5 separate regions of the Homo sapiens genome follow, and regions 2, 3, 4 and 5 are each linked to region 1. The links are contacts of gene promoters, found by promoter capture Hi-C in blood cells and fetal thymus (Javierre and others, 2016). All regions are on one chromosome and are shown on one strand. The core of a region is centred on a gene start or on the middle of the fragment in contact, and the rest is flanking DNA. Distances in the headings are between cores, read along the strand shown. Region 1 holds the start of ZW10 (zw10 kinetochore protein). Region 2 has its middle 21 kb from the start of NNMT. Region 3 overlaps TTC12 (tetratricopeptide repeat domain 12). Region 4 overlaps TTC12 (tetratricopeptide repeat domain 12). Region 5 has its middle 8.6 kb from the start of ANKK1.

The links. The method cuts DNA at HindIII sites, captures the fragments that hold promoters and counts their contacts. A CHiCAGO score of 5 or more calls a contact.
Region 2: a contact is called between a fragment that was not itself captured here and the fragment with the promoter of ZW10 in region 1, in 1 of 17 cell types (total B cells). The highest score is 9.5, in total B cells.
Region 3: a contact is called between a fragment that was not itself captured here and the fragment with the promoter of ZW10 in region 1, in 6 of 17 cell types (total CD8 T cells, M2 macrophages, M0 macrophages and 3 more). The highest score is 8.6, in total CD8 T cells.
Region 4: a fragment that was not itself captured here is called in contact with the fragment with the promoter of ZW10 in region 1 in 3 of 17 cell types (M0 macrophages, M1 macrophages and M2 macrophages); the score reaches 6.0 in M0 macrophages.
Region 5: a fragment that was not itself captured here is called in contact with the fragment with the promoter of ZW10 in region 1 in 1 of 17 cell types (total B cells); the score reaches 5.3 in total B cells.

Annotation. Positions count from the first base shown.
Region 1 is chr11:113,772,401-113,775,037 of GRCh38, reverse strand. ZW10 (zw10 kinetochore protein) reads left to right here and starts at 1,346. Exons shown (of 16, transcript NM_004724.4): 1 at 1,346-1,476. The coding sequence starts at 1,372. RefSeq lists enhancers at 1,156-1,215, 1,346-1,615. The HindIII fragment of the contact is 9,750 bases long and covers 714-2,637 here.
Region 2 is chr11:114,274,096-114,276,732 of GRCh38, reverse strand. It overlaps a transcript of NNMT not described here. Among named protein-coding and RNA genes, the nearest start is that of NNMT, 21 kb to the left of the region's middle. The HindIII fragment of the contact is 1,048 bases long and covers 811-1,858 here.
Region 3 is chr11:113,319,147-113,321,783 of GRCh38, reverse strand. The region is part of intron 2 of TTC12 (tetratricopeptide repeat domain 12); the gene reads right to left. Among named protein-coding and RNA genes, the nearest start is that of TTC12, 5.9 kb to the right of the region's middle. The HindIII fragment of the contact is 8,883 bases long and covers 1-2,637 here.
Region 4 is chr11:113,338,559-113,341,195 of GRCh38, reverse strand. TTC12 (tetratricopeptide repeat domain 12) reads right to left here. Exons shown (of 22, transcript NM_017868.4): 9 at 2,362-2,422; 10 at 1,722-1,910; 11 at 463-532. Among named protein-coding and RNA genes, the nearest start is that of TTC12, 25 kb to the right of the region's middle. The HindIII fragment of the contact is 4,416 bases long and covers 1-2,637 here.
Region 5 is chr11:113,377,845-113,380,481 of GRCh38, reverse strand. No RefSeq gene overlaps it. Among named protein-coding and RNA genes, the nearest start is that of ANKK1, 8.6 kb to the left of the region's middle. The HindIII fragment of the contact is 5,570 bases long and covers 1-2,637 here.

The sequences.
Region 1 (2,637 bases), core at 97-2,596:
GCTCATGGCATGTGAATTGGCCCTTGCTTCACTGGGATAAGCAGATTGTCTCAAAGACACTTAACAATTGTCAGGGATCTTAGAGTCAGTGCCTACTTGGGGTCAACCCTCACAATATATCTTTTTAAAAAACCAAAAACCTTTTAATCAAAACAGTACATCTGGCTCTTGGTATCCACGGATCCAACCAACCACAGATCAAAAATATTCTGGAAAAAACTAATAAAAAATAACAATACAACAACAAAAAATAATGCAAATCAAAATACAATATAACGACTCTATAGCATTTAGATTGATTTGTATTAGGTCTTATAAGTAATCAAGAGATGATTTAAAGTGTATGGGGAGGATGTGTGCTGGTTACTTGTAAACATTACATCATTTTATGTAAGAGACTTGAGCATCCACGGATTTTGCTACTGGGGCAGGGGAGGTTTCTGGAACCAATCCCCCCATACCAAGGGAGGACTGTGTATGTTTACTGCAGAAAAATAGAGAAAGCAAGGGCAGAGAAGAGAATAAATACCATAAATCCACCACCCATAGGATAATTTGATGTCTGTCCTTTACATACATACTTACATACTTTTTGTTTTCTGACCAATGGTTATACACTTAAGTTTTTAAAAAGGAATCATAGTATACATAGAATATTGTGAACATCTTTCTGTATGCAATGCATTAAAATAATGAAACCATTTTTAAAAGCTTTTGACACATTTATATATTTATAATATGACAGAAAGTACTAAGTATCTTGTTCACACAGGACTAATATTATGTATATCTAAGTAATATAAATATGTAATGTAGGTAATGTAAATGTGTAATGTATCACGTAGATGTAATATATGTACATAGATGCAATTATAAGCAACCTTTTATTTATAATGAGGTGACGCCACTTCTTTACACAACTCTAGAGGGCGCCATTCGTAGATTCTGGTGCCACAGCGGCCCAATAAAAGTTGAGGAAAAAAGATCGAGATGGGCTCGTTGGCTCTTTCAGTTAGATAATTTTACAAGTAAGCCTTTTGAAGTTTAGAAAGGTTCAGTTAGACCTGGTTATTAAAAACGTTTAATTTCCTCCAGTGAAAAACGGGCGGGAAGCAACGAACTTTGAAAACAACTAAGGAAGAAAACGCGTCTGCTTACAGTTTGCCAACTACGGGACACCGTGGAAATCCCATCTCGGGATTGGCGCGGTGCCTGCTGGGAGTTGTAGTGCGCCCCTCGCCTTCCGGGCGGCGGTCTGAGGCCCGCGAGACTCCGTTTCCCGGCAGGCCTCGCGTCAAGACGGCCGGCGGGACGGGAGCTGCGGCGCTGGCTACGAGAGTGACCCAGTCAGCGTTGGTTCCCGTCTTGGCCATGGCCTCGTTCGTGACAGAAGTTTTGGCACACTCCGGGAGGCTGGAAAAGGAGGATCTGGGGACCCGGATCAGCCGCCTGACCCGGCGGGTGGAGGAGATCAAGGTGAGAGCGGGGCAGCTGTCTGCTGACTGGAAGGGGACTCCGGGTCCTTGTGTGAAGGGACTGGAGAGAGGAGTCAGGGGCTAAGGGCAGACAGAGTGGGGACCAGCAGAGTGGGGCCTGTTGGGGAGATCTAGTTGTGGGGGCTGAATGAGGAGTGGAGGGGCCCAGAATGTGTGGATTGAGGAGGGATCTTGGAGGGGAGCCCACACAGGGGTTGGGAACTGAGGAGGCGAGGAGACCTGGGACTGTGGGGACGAACAGGCGGTGGCTGGAGAGCACTGGAGAGTGGAGTTATGTTGGGGAGGGGTGTGCCGCGGGAAGAGGGAGACTGAAGAGACCAGCAGAGCGGGAGGAGCAACTGGAAGCTCCGAGGAAGCTAGGGAGCGAGCGCAGGAGAGGAATAGAAAAGACAGGATCCCCCTTCCCCTTCTTCCATCGATGAGTGTTTATTTCCTCCACCCACTCCTTGATTTGTTGATGAATAAAATAGCCTGGAGGATTGCACCTTTCTCCTCCCCGACATTAAAAAAAAAACAAACCCAAACCCTCAGTATGTTTTTATTTTTATGTATCTATCTATCTTTTGAGATGGAGTCTTGCTCTGTCGCCCAGGCTGGAGTGATCTCGGCTCACCGCGACCTCTGCCTCCCGGGTTCAAGCGATTCTCCTGCCTCAGCCTCCCGAGTAGCTGAGATTACAGGCGCGTGCCACCACGCCTGGCTAATTTTTTTTTTTTTTTTTTTGTATTTTTAGTACAGACGGAGTTTCACCATGTTGGCCAGACTGGTCTCGAACTCTTGACCTCAGGTGATCCACCCGCCTCGGCCTCCCAAAGTGCTGGGATTACAGGTGTAAGCCACCGTCTCCGGCCTCTTAATGTGGTTTTAAAACTTCATCTACAAGCACATGAAGCTGTGCTGAGTGTCATTGGTACCTACGTAAACGTTGCTGCCTTGAGATTGATACAAAAACTGGAAGCACGTAGCCACACACAGTTTTGCTTTGTACTGATATTGTTACCTTGCCAGTATTTGTCCACATCTTCAGTTGCTTTCATTTAAAATTTTGTGTATCTGAGTCAAGTAGGGTTTCGAGGGAGCAAGTTTGCCACACACCATAAGGGCACAGGTATAACCCTTCCTAACAGCTCTTGATTTTACA
Region 2 (2,637 bases), core at 85-2,584, 500 kb before region 1:
ACAAATGGCCTAAACTAGGAGATCATGGGGGGCTCTCCCCTCTTCTCTCTATGCAACCCTGCAGAGCCCTTGAAACAAGAAGAAGCACAGCTTTATTTCTCTGGTCTAATTCTTTCTCTCCCTCCCTGGGCCATGAGTGGAGCATATTATAAACCTCTCTGTTTGAGATCAACATTCCTATTTACCTGGCAATCATGTATAATAAGACTCTAAAAGCATTTGCTGGTAAGGTTTCTAAATAAAACAGACTAAACGAAGAGGAAAGCAAATGAGGTAGCAGGATGGCATCTGGAAATCCTGCCCCTGTGCACTCCTAGCTCCTACCAAGTCTGCTGCATCAGTCCCTTCGCCGGGCCACAGAGAACATCTCTGGGTCAACTGGGCAGTCGTGGAAGTGGCTCTCAGCTGCCTGCTGAGCCTTCTCCAACTTCTCCAAATCCAAGCCTGTCTCCTGCAGGGGCTCCTGCAGAAATTCCTCTCTAGGGGCAGTGTGGAGAACCTCTTGTCCCCCACCATGTAGACACTGGTCTCAAAGCCTCTGCTTGCAGCATACGGTCCCTGGGTTGAAGCAGGGTCCCAAGTTGGCACAAGGTGCCTTGGCAGGTACCCAGGGTGGGTGGGGGGGCAGCCTGAAACCACAGGGAGAAAACGAGGCAGTCGGCCAGGGGCAGGACTGCAGGTTTCAGAGGCCATTCTTTCCAAATGTCACATGTAAGCACATTTGAGTCGCTTTCCTTAAACACTCCTCCTTTTCAGCCCACTTCTCTCTGGAAAGAAGGAAATGGAAAGAGTGGCCAGCTGGGTCAAGCTTACCTCATGGGACATATAGATCACTCCTGGTCATTTTCTGCATCTCATACACACACTTGCAGGATAACAGAATATTCTAACCCTAATCTTAACTGTAACCCTACCCCTAACATATACACAACTCACAGGATATCAGAATATTCAAATCCTAACCCTAACCATAACCATAACCCCTATACACTCACAAGATATCAGAATATTCTAACCCTAACCCTAAACCCATACACACACTCGCAAGATATCAGAATATTCTAACACAAAACCTAACCATAACCCTAACCCCAAGCCATACACACACTCACAGAATCTCAGAATATCAGAATCAGGTCACTCCTTTTACAGATGAAGACACTGAGTCCTGGAGATGCAGTCATGACATCAGCTATTGGCACGGGCAAGCCTAGGGACCGCCAACCCTGCAGTCAGTGCTCTTTCCACTTGCCGGCTGTCTCTGCAATGTGCTTCTGACAATCAGCCCATTCTTTCTCTGCCTGGTCCATGACTTAAAACAAGTCAGCCAAGTGCAAAGGGAAATGGAAAGTCTGCCTGGAACCAGCAGAGCAAAACTATTAATACAAAGTGAGCTTGGTAGATGTTGTTGAGGACATCCAGTACCTCCATCATCTTTCCCTTCCAGTGGCTCCTGGCTACACACTCCACTCAGTTGTCACATTCTCTTCTTAAATACCTAGTATAGGCTATGAGGCTCATTCATACTGAGGTATGAATAAGGACTAGCACTTAAAGGGTTACTCTTTACAGCTCTTCAATAGTGTATTACAAATGTTATTGTCTTAAGCAAAATGAAGAAGGACCTAATGAACAACTTCAACCTTCTTACTTAACTAGGATGTGGGGTATTTTGGGAGTGAAGATGCTATGGAGAACTTTCCTGGTGCCTGAAATTACGCAAGGTAAGTAAATTCTATTCTGCCTCAAAGTTAGATTGGTCTTAATTCCATTCCCAACTCCAATCCCAGCGATGGCCTTCTCTGTGTTTCCCTGTTCCCAGCAGTGAGAGGTCACCTCAGGAGACCCACAGAAAGCTTCCACAGGTTTAGGGTCAAAAGTCTGGAGGTTGCAATTGGAACAACAGGAACACTGACCAGTCAGAACGGTTGCCTGCCATCAAAAGCCAGCTGACTGTCATCCTGCCTGTTATGCATATGCTTGGGCTCAGATCTTGGCATCTGGGACAGTTTCTTTCTGGCTCCAGGCTTGTCTCTAGCCATCTACTTTGGTTCCCTCCTTGGGGCTTTATAGAACTCACTCTTCCTTTCTTCTTCCTGCAGTTCCACTGACATCCTTCTTTCTTAGTCTCCATCTTTCTTGCCATTTCTACATGAGCCCCACAGAAAATTCTTAGTTCAGAGAGCCACGTGAAGCTCTGGCATCCTCAAGGTGCAAAAACAAACACCGAACTCCTTGCCTAATCCCTTCAAGCTCACATACATATTTTACCACTGGAGACCAGTCAAATGACTGCAGCCTCTGTCTCTGCTACCTGTTCAGCTCCAGGACATTCTTGTCCATGTAGTTGGAGGCAATGGTCTCCTAGAAAGACTCACAGGCAGAGAGGAGCTGATAATGGTGGCCTCAGGGCCAATGCCAATTAGTCACTTTCCTATCAGCCCACCTGTTTTAGAACAAGAATATTTCTAAATCGTCAGTATCGAAGCATGGCTCTGAGGTCCACCTTTCCCAAAAGGTTCTACTTTCTCTAGACTTCTTAGAGAGACACGTTTGTTTGGGGTGTAGAGAGTCAACCACTTGGGAATGCAGACTCTAAGATTTGGAATTTTATCTGCACTAACAGCCTTAGACATG
Region 3 (2,637 bases), core at 64-2,563, 450 kb after region 1:
TTCTCATGAGTGGTATGAGTGCAAGCCCTAATTCAAATGCACTTTTCAAGCCTCTGCTTGTGTCATGTTTGCAAACATCCTTTTGGCCAAAGCAACACACATGGCCAACCCAGATTCAAGTGGCAGAGAAATAGGCTCCACTCTTGATGGGAAGAAAGGAATTTGTAACCATTCTTGCAATCTACCAGAATATTTGTGTATGTAATATTTAAACAATTTTTTAAAATAGTTGTATAAAATGTGCATTCATTTGCAACCTACTTTTTTCTCTTAAGATGCTTTAGAGATGTGTTCTTGATACACATGGTTCCAGTTGATTCATTTAAACCATTATATATACCATAGTTAATCCATTCTCTTATTGATAGCCAGGTGGTTTTTCAGTTTTTTCTAAAGTAAATAAATGCTGAATTGAATACCTGTATGTACATATTTCCTTGTGCACATGTTACATATCCTTCAGGATATGGCTGTACCAATTTTTACTCCTACAAAAGAGTACAAGAGGAAGTTCCCATTCTTCTACATTCTTATCATCACTTGCTGGGTTAAACTTTTTAATTGTTGTCAATGTAATGGATGGGAATGGTATCTCATTGTTTTAATTTGCATTTCGCTGAATTTGATTGGAATTGAGCATCTTCTTATTGATTTGCACCCATTTGGATTTCTACGAAGAGCCTACTCCTATCCTTGGCCAATTTTCTATTGGGTCATTGTCTCTTTCTTATTAGTTAATATAATTTCTTTTTTAAAAAATTCTTTTTTTTTTAAGAGATGGTCTTGCTATGTTGTCCAGGCTCGATTTGAACCCCTGGGCTCAAGCGATCCTCCTGCTTCAGCCTCCTGAGTAGCAAAGACTACAGGCACACACCACCATGCCTGGTTGATTTGATTGTGAAACAGGGGAGTTCTCTGATCCCCCTCGCAGGACATGCGACAGGGGTGTGGCTTGCCTGTTTAGTCACCACCACTGCTCAAACCCCTGAGGGGAGGGGGAGAACGCAGACGGACAAGTGCAGGAGCCCAGTTGGGCACGTGTTACAGCGTGTCCTTTTAGCCCTGCCATCTGCGGACGACTTGATTGTTAACCAGCTTGACGGACATCTGCCTTTTCACAAGGGCAGAGGGAAGTGACAGCTTTTTGTATCCCGAGCTCTTGCCCAGCATCCCCGGAAGAATCAGGTCACACACAGGACTAAAGGATGAATGTGGGGTTTTACTGAGTGGTGGAGGTGGCTTTCAGTGGGATGGATGGGGAGCTGGAAGGGGGAATGGAGGGGAAAGATGATCTTCCCCTGGAGCCTGGCCATCCAGTGGCCCAACTCCCCTCTGGCTGCTCCCAGCCAAACTCCTCTCGGCGTTCAGACATTCCTCCTCTTTTCTCTACTGTGTCGTTCTGCCATTTGTCTGCTTGTGTCCTCATCTCACCTGCTCGTCTGCTTCTGGAGCCTGGGGTTCAGAGTTTACATGGGCACAGGATAGGGGAGCATGGCAGGCCAAAAGGCAACTTTTTGGGCACGAAAACAGAAATGCCTGTTTCCACTTAGCGCTGCAGATCTCCCGGCTTGAGGGTGGGGTCTTTGCCAGGGAACCACCCTCTTCTATCCACTATTCCCATCTCCTACCCGTATCAGTTGTATATATTCTGGACTGGTTACATGTATTTCCAAACATCTTCCCCTTGGGTATTCTTTGTCTTTTCATTTGTTTTTATGGAATATGTTGTTGAAGAGATTTTCTTTTTAATTTTAGTGTGTTAAATATACCATCTTTTCCTTTACAATTTAGGTCTTTTGTGTCAGTAAGGTTATAAATATACTCTCTTATGGTGTCTTATAAAAGTTTTAAAGTTTTTTTCTTACTAAGGTATGTAATTCACCTAGAGTTGACTTTCACGTAGGGCAGGAGCATTATTTGTTGAGAAGTCCCTGCCAGCAATGTGTCTCATCATCCCTGTTATGTGTGCAAATCTTCTCCAGGCTCTTCATTCCTTTCCCCTGATTGTCCTTTCCAGCACGAAAACCTCCATGCATTGATTACTATGGCTTTATAATAAATCTTGAATGTCAGGTAGGGAAAGTTGTCCTGCTTTTTTTTTTTTTCCTGCAGAGTTTTCTTGGCTCTTCTTGGTCCTTTGCTCTTCCACGTAAACTTTGGAATCAGCTTGCTGAATTTTAGTACATACTACTTTGCGGGTTTTGATCTAAATTGTATTTACTGCATAGAATATTTTAAAAATTGACATTTTTACCAAATAAGTCTTCCTAGGATTAAATACGTCTCCATTTATTTAGCTCTTCTTTCATGTCTTTTAATTAACTTTTTTTTAAATTAACTCAACTGCACACTTTATTCTAATTTCATTGTTTTTTCTCCCTAATGCCCTTTTCCTATTCCAGGATCCCATCCAGAACACTACACGACATTTAGTCATGTCTCCTTAGGCTTCTCTAGGCTGCGACAATTTCTCACCCTTTCCTTATTTTGATGACCTTGACAGTTTTGATGACCTTGACATTCTATGAGTTTGCATAGAATACCTTGCAATTTGGGTTTATCTGGTATTTTTCTCACGGTTAGACTGGAGTTACAGGATTTGGGGAAAAAGACCATGGCACATTATGGCGTATCAGG
Region 4 (2,637 bases), core at 89-2,588, 430 kb after region 1:
TACAGTGGCGTGATCTCGGCTCACTGCAACCTCCGCCTCTCAGATTCAAGCGATTCTCGTGCCTCAGCCTCCTGAGCAGCTGGGATTACAGGTGCCTGCCACCATGCCCAGCTAATTTTTGTATTTTTAGTGGAGTCGGGGTTTCACCATGTTGGCCAGGCTGGTCTCAAACTCCTGACCTCAAGTGATCCGCCCGCCTTGACCTCCCAAAATGCTGGGATTACTGGCATGAGCCACCGCGCCCAGCCTCAATTGTTAGCTGCAGTGTAACTCCAATGTCTTGAGGGAAAGCACTCAAAGATGTTCGTGGAGTAGCTTTGCACTCCTGGAGAGCCCCCCACTACTGACTGAAGGGGGGTAATGTTCAGAAACGTGACTGTCTATGTGCCTCGTGTCTGATTTCATAAGCAGTGGTTATCTTCCCTTGCTTTGCTGCTGGGCTGTCTCTATGAACATCCCTACCTTCTTATGACCTCGTTGTCACTGATGATACTAAATCCATTGTGCATTCTGAATAAAGTTTGTTCTGTGCCTGAAACAGATACAAAGAAAACCACTTCAGACTCCCAAACTGGCTGGCTGGTGTCTCGCTGCAACACAGCCACCTGCTAATGAGAAACCTAATATGGAATGCCACGGTACCCACGTGAATGGTTTGGCAGGAACAAATGAACTTTACATTTTGAAACATACAATGGTCAGCAGCCTCTCAGCGTCAGAGGCCTCAGTGCCTCTCAGGCGGAGGGACTGTTTAGAGAAGGAGAGCAGAGCTGGGGTGGCCCCGAGGGCTATCTGCACAGCTCATCATTCTGTAATCTTCAGAGAGCCTCCCAGAGCTGCTTAACCTATGGGAAGTACCAGCATATCCATCTGTTCTTAAATATTTATTTCAAAGCTATTTCCAAGCTCCAGAGAGGAATTTATAATCTCCAAGAAACTGCTGAAGGGGATATTTGTGTGCCCTCCATTGTACACTAAAGAGAAGTCAGACACTCCATCTATTTGTACAAACAACATGCTGTCACTGAGTATAGAGATTATTTAAGCCTTGGTAACAATGTTTACAAGAGCTAGTAAAAGAGAACAGTATGGCCCTCATTAGTAGGAGAGCTGATGTTTGCTCTGAAACCATTTTCACATCCTATGCAGCCATTAACTGTAACTGGGTGAACCTTACAGTTTAACCTACAAAATTCTGTCTTCCATTCCTCCACAGTGGAGGGAAGGTGTACGAGGTGGTATGGGATGCTTGAGGTGTCTGTGGGGGTATGTGTGGAGTACACGCAGGATGTGCATGGGGTGTGTGGTGAAAATGTGAGGGTGGAGTGTGCGCAGGATATGTGGACTGACATGAGTACTTATGGTGTGAGTGTGCTGTGTGTGGTATGTGGTGTGTGTGTAATACAAGGATATATTCAAGTGAGTGAAAGCTGAGTGCATGTGTGGTGTATGTAAGTATATATCGAGTGTGTGCCACGTGTACGTGTTGTGTTGTGTATGTTTATTGCATGTGTGCTGAGTGTACGCATGCTCTGTAGAGAGGATGGAGCAGAAGTCGGAGGACATTTCTTGTGCACCCCTTTTAGCAGCTACATTAGCGTATATCTTTAATCAATATTTGTGGAAGGAAGGGAGGGATTCTTGGCCTGGTAAAGGCAGACCTCTGAATGTGTCCCTTCACACTGACAGCACTCATGAGATCACACACATCTCTGGCTTACACTCATTTATCATTTCAGTCAGGATCTCAATCCCCCCAGCATAGAACAAGGGGATCTGGTCAGGCTTGGAAAGGGTCTCCAGGAGGTTCTTGGTGGTCACGGCTGTGTTCTTTCCTGAATCCAGCAGTTCGTGGGCTTCCTTTTCTTGAAGGTCTGCTTTTTCCTGAAGATCTACTTGATTCAGGTAACCTAGAAAAACAAGAAAGGAAAGCAAAACAAAACCCTAACAATCAACAATACCACACAAGAAGCAACCTTTTTTTTTCCTTTCTTTTGAGGATGGGAGTTTGAGAAGCATAAAGCATTAAAATAATTAAAACTCTTCGTTAGCAAGGAAAATTTTAGAAACAGTCTAAATCTACAACCAGAATCTTAAACCTTGTTGGGGATTCAAGGGAGTCTAAAAGTGTCTAAGGGAGGATGGTGTAGAAAATGAAGAAGGAAAATATTACTATTTGCAAGGGAGCACAGCAAACAGAGGAGCAGAGTGGGCTGGTTAACACAGAGGACCCAACTGTGCAGGAAAGAGGATCCGCCGCTGCCTAGTGGCCAAGGGCAGTGAAAGCACGGAAGGCATTCTAAGGCAGGGGGCAGAGGGAGGTGGAGTTCAGATGAAGGACCTCAGCAGGAACGTGCTCACCTTTCACCTGGGTTTGCAGCTTGGGGTTTATTTCTAAGATCTTCTTATAACACTCTCTAGACTGGAAAAAAGAAACAAGACCTTGAAGAGTGGTTGGGGTAAAGGTGATTATGAGAAAGACACTGGGTGTCATTGGGCTTGGCTGCTTCATTATTTTCTCCTCACCTCCTCCTGCTCCCAGTGCAGGAGACAGGCATAGGAACACAATGTGCATTTGACATTTTTGTTCAGGCGTCTCCAGTTCTAGGGGGCAACAGGAATTATTTCAAAATTAGT
Region 5 (2,637 bases), core at 52-2,551, 390 kb after region 1:
AGTCATTATATGAAAAAGATACTTGCACACACATTTACAGCAGTACAATTCTCAATTGCAAAATTGTGGAACCAACCAAAATGCCTATCAATCAACTAGTGGAAAAGGAAACTGTGAGATATACATATATATGATGGAATACTACTCAGCCATAAAAAGGAATGAATTAACAGCATTTTCATGGACCTGGATGAGATTGGAGACTACTATTCTAAGTGAAGTATCTCAGTAATGGAAAACTAAATGTTGTTTGTTATCACTGATATGTGGGAGCTAAGCTATGAGGACACAAAGGCATAAGAACCATACCATGGACTTTGGGGACTTGGGGGGAAGGGTGGGAGGAGGACAAGGGATAAGAGATTACAAATAGGGGGCAGTATATACTGCTCAGGTGATGGGTGCACCAAAATCTCACAAATCACTACCAAAGAACTTACTTATGTAACCAAATGCTACCTGTACCCCAATAACCTATGGAAACATAAAATAAAAAATAAAAAGTGGGCAAAGGACATGAACAGAACATCTCAAAAGAGGACATACCTGCGGCCAACACATATATGAAAAAGTGCTCAACATCAGTAATCATTAGAGAAATGCAAATCAAAATCACAATGAGTTACTGTTTTGCAGCAACCATTTTAATAATGGCTATTATTTAAAAAAAAAACAAAAAATAACAAATGCTGGTGAGGCTGTGGAGAAAAGGGAACACTTATACACTGTTTGTGGTAGTGCAAATTAGTTCAGTCACTGTGAAAGCAAGCTGAATATTTCCCAAAAAACTTAGAATTAACATTCAACCCAGCAATCCTATTACTAGGCATAAAATAAATCTTGCTACCAAAAAGACATGTGCATTCATATGTTCATCACAGCACTGTTCACAATGGCAAAGACATGGAATCAACCTAGGAGCCCATCAATGGTGGATTGGATAAAGAAAATGTGGTACATATACACCATGGACTACTATGCAGCCATAAAAAAGAATGAAATCATGTCCTTTGCAACAACACAGATGCAGCTGGAGGCCATTATCCTAAGTGGTGAATTAACACAGAAACAGAAAACCAAATACCACATGTTCTCACTTGTAAGTGGAAGCCAAACCTTAGGTATACATAGACAGAAAGATGGGAATAACAGACACTGGGAACTACTGGGGGTGGAGAAGGGAGGGGGCAAGGGTTGAAAAACTACCTGTCGGGTGCTATGCTTGTTTGCTTGCTCCCTGGGTGATAGGATCATTCATACCCCAAACCTCAGCATCACACAATATACCCATGCAACAAACCTGCACATGCACCCACTGAATCTAAAATACAAGTTGAAAAAGAAGAAAATATTTTGTTTGTTTGTTTCACTATGTGGTATAGGTGGTTGTGAAGAATACAATTCTTAAAAGTCAAAGAAACTTAAATAGACCAATAGAATATGGGCTCCTGGACAGGAATCTTGTTCTCTGCTCTATCCTCAGTACTTGGCCATGTAGGAGGGAGCTCATTTAACATTTGATGAATGAATGAATGAATGAATGAATGAATGAATGAATGAATGAATGGATGAATGAACAGGAAGGTGAATCTCCCGGGGTGAAGGTTGATTTCTAGCCTTTTTTCAGAGACTTCTCTAGTCTGAGTAGGTTCTGAGTCATTTTGTAGCAGACCAGGCTTTTCCTTTACAGTTTTCTCCAACCTGCCTCCCCAGGGTCAGGCCACTAAAACCCCTAGGCAGATTCTCCTGGGAGAGATCCTTAGAGATTCCCATCATTGCTACCTTCCCCCGGTCGGTTTCCTTATGATCATTTACGATGCTTCATATTTTTATAAGTATGGTTTTCCAAGCAAAGGGCTGTTCTGATGAATGAGAGAACAAATTGATGGCGAGGCTTCAGGGGCCAAAGCAATAATCAGATGGTCATTTAGCCAGCCTTTGCTTCAAACCAGACACTCCATCCCAAGTGCTCAACTTGCATTATCTCATTTAATTTTCTTGACAACCCTCTGAGTTTGGTACTATTATTATTTCCATTTTTGCAGGTTTAGAGGAGCCTTGGGTCACGCAGTTGGCAATTCAGTGGCCCAGGACTTAAACCTGGCTTGCTTCCTGCCAAGGTACATTGCTCTTAACATATGGCCAGAATAGCCTTGATCAAATCAAATACAGGACTCTGAGCCTGAGGCTTATCCATTGCTGGCGGTGGGGTGGGGTGTCACGTGCTCCCCAGGCCAGGCCTGAACAATAGGACCTCCTGGGGGGAGAAAAATCAGCTGTGGAAATTTAGAGACACTCCCTGTTCTCCTTCAACCTGAAAGGAAGAGAAAAGAGAGGGTGGGTGTGCTGGTACTGAAGAGGTGGAGCTTTGACTAATATGCTCATCAGGACTTTGCCTGCAGCAAAAAGATATCTTTGGAAGCTGTGCCTGTGGAAAGGTCAGTATTAGCTCAATCAAATTTGGCTTATGGAGAAACTTCGGGATTACTTAGTTGCAGTGGAAATGTGTCTTTGTCTCTACAGTTTTGGTTGGAAAGAAAGCAATGTGTCCCTGGGACTGTCAAAACGCTTTTTAACCAGTAACAGGAAAACTATGTATGTGCTGGTAAATTTGCATTGAATATGGAAACTTGGCAC